Regions from separate parts of the Homo sapiens genome. Here all the other regions are linked to region 2. Evidence: promoter capture Hi-C in 16 types of primary human blood cells and fetal thymus (Javierre and others, 2016). All regions are on one chromosome and are shown on one strand. Each heading gives the region's core, a stretch centred on a gene start or on the middle of the fragment in contact. The rest is flanking DNA. Distances are from core to core; before and after follow the strand shown.

Region 1 (2,700 bases), core at 10-2,509, 110 kb after region 2:
TGAAGACACTGAAAAATGTCTGGGTAGGGGGCTGCAGGGAGCAGGGGTTTTCCTGAGAGAATGGAATGTCCCATGAGAAATTTCACTTACCATGAGAGGGGAAGTCCATTTCGTATGACATGATATAACACTGTCATTATAAACTCTCCGTTGGTTTCACATGTGTTAATATTTATCATTCTTTTGATTAGTTATTCATCAAGAAAACCCTGTGAATTCTGAAAAAATCATCATGTATCAAGGGTTCCTCAGGCTAGATGATGGACCCAGGATCATTTTCTCTATTCTTTGCAACAGAGAGCTTGCTTTTTATTTTTATTTATTTATTTTTTTAACCAAACACCACTTGGTCTGCAGGTGAGGAGCTGTCCTTGCCCACATGAGACAATCTCATCTGAAGCAACAACCTGGTACCAGGATATCATGTTTACTCATGAGAATACCGTCGACCATTGACCTTCAAGTGAAGGTTGATCTGTACTTTTTTTTTTTTTTAAGACAGAGTCTCACTCTGTCCCCAAGGCTGGAATGAAGTGGTGCGATCTTGGCTCACTGCAACCTCTGCCTCCTGGGTTCAAGCGATTCTTGTGCCTCAGTCTCCCCAGTAGCTGGGATTACAAGGGCATGCCAACACTCCCTGCTAATTTTTTATATTTTTAGTAGAGACAGGGTTTCACCATGTTGCCTAGGCTGGTCTTGAACTCCTGAGCTCAGGCAATCCACCCACCTCGGCCTCCCAAAGTGCTGAGATTACAGGTGTGAGCCACCGTGCCTGGTCTGACCTGTGCTTTTCACCTTCTCTGCACACCTGTGTGCCCTTTCTACATGGGGCCTCAACTCCAGACCCCGCAAACAACAACTAACATGAGGACAACTGCTGGGAAGAGGCTGAAGCAATTGCAGCATGATCACACAAGGTTGGGATAGATTTCTTTCTCATCTCTCATACACACCCCTTGCAAAAAAATAGGTGGGCAGAAAAGTCTGGGGCTAAGCTTGCCCTGTTTCATCAATGTACAGTTTGCATTACTGAACAGACTAGAACAATGTGTCAATGTAAAAACATTTATATCTGGCTTAAATGACAACAGTTTATCTGCCCTCCCTCCCCAAAATACAAAGCAGTACCTATCTTACCTCTGATGTAATTAAAGTGTCCATGATGGTAACTTTTCCCAAGCAAAGCCACAGTCTGTCTTAAAGGTGAGATGAGATCTTTATCTCTACAGACAGAAAATGTTGTAACTTTTAAATGGCAGTTCACCTCCTGCTTGTTGAGGTTTACAGGGCAGCTTAACAGGTGGGTAGGTGCAGTGGATGGGCAGAGAGATAACTGATATATAAGACAGAGAGATATGTGGACATATTTTCTTACTGTAGTGCTTTTAAAAATATGTACAATTTAAAATAAACTTTTGCTTTCAAAATTTCACTATTTTTGTTGCAGTGATAACCACCAAGCCAAAGGGACAGGAAGCTCTCGGCATTGTTGGTGTTTTACTCAAGCCATGGTATGAAGCTTCTTTTTGGTCTAAAAGTATGTGTTTTTAGTAATAGCAACTCTAGAACTTCAGAGGCAGTGTAAGTGTTGGTTCTAATTGGTAACGTTACATATCTGAGGATCACAGGGCTGCGGAAGTTAAGACATCTAATCGAGTGCTCGCAGAACAGCTCCTTTGAAACAGAACATGCTTTCCTCTAGTTGTGGATTAAGTGCAACCCTTTCACAGACTTAACAATAATAATCCCTTGGCCTTCTTTTTCTGTTTTCTTAAATATATGGTTTTAGTTGTATCGGTTAGTTTCTATTTAATTTGGTAGAATTTTTTATTTCTAAAATGTTTAGTCACCACATTAAAAGGGGGCACAATCTTCTATTTGGTATAAAAGCCTCTGTGCTACGGTTTGCCCAGGATTTTCCTGATTTTGACACTGAAAGTTCTGTGTCCCAGGAACCCCTTTAGTCACGAGCAATGTGGGGCAGTTGGTTACCCTCAACTGTGGTATATTTTGGTGAAATATACTTTAGCTTTAATGAGAAAAAGACAATTATCATTTAAACACCATCCTCTTTAGGTACAAATAATTCCCTGTGTGAGATGTTGAAGGAGAGCAGCTGCCTCCCATTGCTGGGCAGGGCCAGGCACACTCAGCTGCTTGGAACACATGGCAGGAACGAATTTCTGCTCAAGGCTTGGATCAGGCAATTGATGCTTTCTGGAAGGGAAATAATGGCTGAGGAAACGTCGATGTCAATATTTCTTCATGGAGAAAAACACATTTTGATCTTTCTTCATGGAGAAAAACACATTTTGATCTTTTCCTCAAACAAGTCAATAAGGTATCAGGTTCTATTTGAATCTTTTCCCTGGAAAACATCTTACAATTATGAGAGTCTAATAACTTTTTCTTGTAACATTAAATTGAGGCAATTCCAATGCTTCAAACAGTATTTATTTAAAAGGAGATGGACAACCTCCTAAAAGTTGTTAGATTTTCATGAAATGGAGAGACTGAGTGCATCAATGAGTTGGTAATTAATCACTTTTAATTTCCCCTCTTAAGTCTCCTCCTCCATACTGTCCCTCAGCCCAGGTAGCTCTCCAGGTAACAGGGTTTCACAAGCCCTGTGCACATTCTCTATCTCCAAGCATTAAGGGGCCTTTTTAATTCATTCAACCAACATTTTTTGAGAACCTC
Region 2 (2,700 bases), core at 171-2,670:
CGCCGCCCTCCAGGTTCATGCCCCGCGTGCCGTCCGCGCCCGCGCCCGGGGTCCTCCGCCCGCTCTGCTCTGCACTGCGGGGAGAAGAGCTGCCCTTCAGCCACGAGGCACCGCACTCCGGGCACCCCGCCCCGATCCCCTGCGCCAGTGACCACGAGGCCCCGGAGTCTTTGAGGCTGCGAAGCGCGCGCGTGCCGTGTCAGGGTCGTCCGGGCCCCCGGAAGAAGGCACCTTCGCGGCCGGCCCGGGCGCATCCCCTGGGCGGGCACAGCCGTCCGCCTTCCGAGCTCGGCCCCCGCGAAGGCTCCTACCCGCCTGCTCTCCTGTAACGCACCCGCAGCCCAAAGGCTCCCGACACGCGCCGCTCGTCTTGCACCCTCTCTCCCCACCCAGCCGCCACCCCTCCTGGCCCTCCTTCCGCACTCACTCGCAGCTCTCGCTTGCCTTCGCTCACTCCCAACCCGCTTCTCGCCCCTTCCCCGCGACTCTGTCAGTTTCCACTCCCCTGGCGGCCTCCACGCGCGGAGGACCTCGCCTGCGGCCGGGCGTTCCAGGGGCGCAGCCCCGGGTTCCTCCACCCTCCGCTTTCTCTGCTCGCATCCAGACCCTTCGCCCCGAATAGGACCCCTATCCCTGCCCAGCTAGCGCGCACTAAGTGGGCTCTGCAAACGACAAGTGGCGCAGACGCGGGGGCTGCAGCCCCAGTACGGGGGATTCCGCGCGCAGAGCGTCCGCCGGACCCCGGAGCAGGCCCGGGAGAGCGGAGGCGGGGAGGGCGCGGGAGAGGGCGACGACAGCTGCGGAGCCTGGGAGGCAGGGACCGCGCCAGGCCGGCTAGGCCACCGCACGCAAGGCTCGGAGCGACCCAAATGTGGAGCTCCTCCTCCTCCTGCGCCAGCGGGTGAGCACCGCGCCGGAGGCCGCCGTGAGCTTGGGCCCCTTAGGAACGAAGAGCAGGGGAAGGAGCCTCGGATTGGGGTCCACAGGGCCGGGCCTGTTTCTCGCAGGCAGTTGTGCCGTCTTGTGTGGGTGCCTTGGACGGCCCCGCCTCAGCCACTCCTGGGGCCCCGACAGTCCGGTTAGCTCATCCCGTCCAGCTTGTGGCGACCCCGTCGCAGGAGCGCGGAGGGCAGGCGGGGAGGCTCGGGCAGAGCCAAGGAGGCGGGCCTTGGAGCCCAAACCAGCGCCTCCGGCTCAGCGCAGATGGGGTGGGAGTCGGAGCTCCAGGACGGGGCGCGCTCCCTTCCCGCTCCGAAGCCGGGGTACCCTGCGCTGCCCTGGAGGTCGAACCTCTGGTTCGCGCTCCGGGTCCTCTCTGGTATCAGCCTCACACCCCTCCTCCTGCCCGACTCCAGCCCTTACCTCGCCCTGGACTCGGAGCTGAGGGCAGCGGTGGGTCCCAAGATCGAGCGGTGAAACTGAGAGTGCGAGGTGGGAAAGAGGAACTTTATAGAACTCTCTGGGGCGGGGCCTGGGGCGGGGCGGGGCGCCGAGGCCTGTGGGGGCCGGGGGTTGGACTGGGGAGAGGGACTTTGCAAGCCGAGAGCCGGGGCCGGCCGGGCGGGCGAGCCTCAGGGCCGGCGTGAAGGCTGGGGGCTGCCGCGGCCGGGGTGGGGTTCCCGCGCCCTTGGCGACCCTCCGCGCGCCGCGCCCGGAGAGCGCACCTCCAGCCGGGCGCGCGCCGCTTCGGGGACTGTCACTGGGGCCGTTTCCCGCGAAGGGCGAGGTGCGAAATGCGAATCTCGCCTTTGCGCCAGGACCTCAGGAGGCCAGTCAATCACTAAACTGCAGCGATGTGGCCAGGGCGGGAAATGGGGGGCGTGTAGTAGCGGGAATCTGGTGCGAAGGGGACTTCGCTTTGCAGAGCGTGTAACGGAAGACGGAGGAATGGTCCAAAGAGAACTGGAGGTGGAGGTTGCGGGAGCACCCTCGGCAAGGCCATCACCGGGAACCCTGCCTCTCCGCGGTGTTTAGAGAACATCGCACTCACTAAAAAGAAAATAGGAAATGGCCCAGCTCCCTTGAGCTATTAAGCTTGATTCAAATACTGTCTCTGCGTGTCTGACATGCTTACATCCTTTTGCATCTATTAGGCTGGTGAATTGAAGTGACTCAGACAATGCCCCGGCCCCGAAGTTTTAATTATCTTAGCATGAAAGAGATGGGGGCGGGGAGAGGCTCCCTAAGGATCCAAGTGCTTAATCACTTCCAGACTTCAGTTCACCTTAAAATGATGTCGTTTTAACCTCAACCTGGAGGAAAGCAGTTTACCAGTGGGGTATAAAAGCCCAAAATAGGCCAGGCGCTGTGGCTCAAGCCTGTAATCCCAGCACTTTGGGAGGCCGAGGCGGTGGATCGCCTGAGGTCAGGAGTTCGAGACCAGCCTGGCCAACACGGTGAAACCCCATCTCTACTAAAAATACAAAAATTAGCCGGGCGTGGCCCCAGCTACTTGAGAGGACGAGCCACGAGAATCGCTTGAACCCGGGAGGCTGAAGTTGCAGTGAGCCGAGGTGGGCGACAGAGCAAGACTCCATCTCAAAATAAATAAATAAAAGCCCAAAATAGGAATAATACTTAAGTGGACCAGGGATTTTACATACTTTTCCAAGATGTCCTTAATCGCAAAATTAACCCCCTGAGCTTTCACCCGTTGAGCTTTCGATCGTCTGAGATGCTGAGTATGTGCATTTACTTCGC
Region 3 (2,700 bases), core at 175-2,674, 72 kb before region 2:
AGAAAGAGGATGGGGCAGGTGGCGGGAGCAGATGTGCCACTGGTTGGAAGGCCACCTGTCCTTTCAGTCACCCTCTGCACTGGAGGGGAGTCTGCCCTTGATTTTCCTCCTCCAGGCCCTCGGGTGGGAGGACCTCTGCAGCCTGCAGCTCCCCCCATGCTGTGTCCTGTGTTTCCACAGGACCTTCTCTCACCTCTGCAAACAGCCACCTTTTTAAACCATTGCTGAATTCTCCGAGTTTATGGGTACCATCGGATGGATTCCTGGTGAGATGTTGCCTGGGATTCCTGGATCCCATCAGCTTCCAGCTGGATGTTTAAGTCCAGGCCAACCCTGTCCCTGCCTGCTTCCTGCCCCGCCACCCCCCCCCCCCCCACAGTGTCCATGGCAGCCTTCACCTCTGTCTTCAGGCCACAGCTGAATCTTCATCTTCTTTATTCTCAGACACCTCCCAACCTCCGACCCCAGCTTTAGGGGTGCACAAGCATTGGGGCAGCTTGACCACCCCAGCCGCTGATGAGTTTAGCCCACTCTCTGCTCAGTTTGTTTTAAAAAGGATTAGAGGCGAGGTGCGGTGGCTCATGCCTGTAATCCCAGCACTTTGGGAGGCTAAGGCAGGTGGATTTCCTGAGGTCAGGAGTTCATGACCAGCCTTGGCCAACATGGTGAAACCCTGTCTCTACTAAAAATATAAAAAATTAGCTGGGCATGGTGGTGCACACCTGTAATCCCAGCTACTACGGAGGCTGAGGCAGGAGAATCACTTGAACCCGGGAGGCAGAGGTTGCAGTGAGCTGAGGTCGCACCACTGCACTCTAGACTGGGCAACAAGAGCAAAACTCCATCTCAAAAATAACAAAATAAAAAATAAAATAAAAATAAAAAAGATTAGACACCTCCCACACTCAGTCACCACCTACCACTGGCTTCGGAATCCCCCGTATTCCACCTTCTGGCTCACTAAGGAAAGTCTCCTCACTAAGATGACCAGTGGCTTCCAAATTGCCAGGTCATACCCACGTTTCAGATCTTATCTCATGAGGCTTTTGGACCTTTTGATCAGTCCTTCAAATAATTTTTCATAACCCAAGTCGTTTTGGTAAATGTTGAAGAAAATGCTGAAATAAAGGTAAGCCAAAAAAAAAAAAATTTATGGTCCTACTACCTAGAGACAACCACTATTAACATTTTACTGTTAGCCTTCCGGACTCTTCTGTGCTTACATATTAAATGGATGTTAACGAATTAATAATACATAACATGTAGCAACCACCTTTAAAATATGATCATCTTGCCTTATTAAAAATATGAAGACATTCATTTTAGTGGCTGCATTGGGTTGCAGGGCGTGGACTTGCCTACCTTTGGGAATGTTGATTGTTGCCCATTTTCCTTGTTGGAGAACAATCTTGTGATGAATGAACTCCTTAGTACTTCATATCTATTCACTCTCATTGTTTTCTTAGAAAAAATTGCTAGAAGTTAAAGCCCCACTGCCAGCTGTCAGCCCCCACACATCCCCTTTCTGCATGGTTGTTTCCTAGGAGTATACCCTTTTCCTAAGTGCAGAAAAGGACGGAGGAAGAGCTGCGACGTGGTTGCAGGTGTCAGACTCCCCCATGAAGGAGGGAAATCTGTCTGCCTGCCTGGGCGCTAGGACTGGAGACAGGTGCCAGGGAGGGTGGCAGCGCTTCTCTGCCTGGAAAACAAAGTGGAAGCCTGAGCTGGTATCTCTCCGGCATACTCCTCCCTCCGGGCCATCACTGCGTCCTCCTGCGTCCGGCATTATGTTCCCTCTGCAGGCCTTTGCTGCTGGTGCGGTGAGACTTTACTTAAGGGGTAGCATTTTAGTAAGAAGTCTGACAAGCAAGGCTATTGACATCTTGAATGTGAAGTGAAGTCCGTGCTTTCCTGCTTCCTGAGATTCCTCTGGCCCCGTGGCTTCAGTGAAACCACACCTTCCTGTTTCCCTCTGAGCCCTTCCTCCTCATCTTTCCGTCTCCTTCTTAGGCTCCTCTTCTTCCACACAGCCCCTAAATTCCAACAATCACCAGGCTTTCCCCCAGAAATCACTCTGCTTACGCTCCCCACTCGCTGTGCCTGTATGGTGGGGTGGGGTCCAACCCACTCAAATTATTAGCCACTAAGACACCCTTGACCCCTTCTTCTCTCAGACTCGAAATTCATCTGCCCAACTGCCTGCTAAGCACCACCTGTGTAATTTATGGATCTCAAAGTTGTTGGGCTCAAAGCGGATTTCACCTCCCTGCCCCTCACTCAGGGCTCCCCTGAGCTGTCTGTGTCAGGGGATACACTGCTGTCCACCCAGCACATAATCCACAAACCCAGCCGTTCCCGTGTGTTCTTCTCCCTCACGCCTCCCACCTGGCCAACCACCACCCATCATCAACTTCACCCTGGAGGAATCTGTCCAATGGGCAACTACTTCATCATCACTGCCCTGGCTAATGCAGGCCCTGGCCATCTGCCACCAGGAAAACGTACCAGCTGGCCTCCCTGCCTCCCACCACCCTTTTCCGACCCAAATGCAACCTCGCAGCACAGTGTGGTAAGTATTTCTATATCTGGATACTGGATACCATACCCTATGCTACTCCTCCACCAAGACTTTCCAATGCTCTTACTGCATACGGGATACAGCAGACAGCCCTGCAGGATGTGCTTCCCGACCACCTTGCC

What was found. The method cuts DNA at HindIII sites, captures the fragments that hold promoters and counts their contacts. A CHiCAGO score of 5 or more calls a contact.
Region 1: a contact is called between a fragment that was not itself captured here and the fragment with the promoter of IRF4 in region 2, in 4 of 17 cell types (total B cells, naive B cells, activated CD4 T cells and 1 more). The highest score is 10.6, in total B cells.
Region 3: a fragment that was not itself captured here is called in contact with the fragment with the promoter of IRF4 in region 2 in 1 of 17 cell types (activated CD4 T cells); the score reaches 5.7 in activated CD4 T cells.

What each region holds. Positions count from the first base shown.
Region 1 is chr6:284,132-286,831 of GRCh38, reverse strand. No RefSeq gene overlaps it. Among named protein-coding and RNA genes, the nearest start is that of DUSP22, 7.0 kb to the left of the region's middle. The HindIII fragment of the contact is 524 bases long and covers 998-1,521 here.
Region 2 is chr6:390,472-393,171 of GRCh38, reverse strand. IRF4 (interferon regulatory factor 4) reads right to left here and starts at 1,420. Exons shown (of 9, transcript NM_002460.4): 1 at 1,363-1,420; 2 at 1-74. The coding sequence starts at 19. RefSeq lists silencers at 264-373, 484-533, 704-753, 1,034-1,103, 1,344-1,733 and 1 more. The HindIII fragment of the contact is 5,232 bases long and covers 1-2,036 here.
Region 3 is chr6:462,957-465,656 of GRCh38, reverse strand. No RefSeq gene overlaps it. Among named protein-coding and RNA genes, the nearest start is that of IRF4, 73 kb to the right of the region's middle. The HindIII fragment of the contact is 3,475 bases long and covers 1-2,700 here.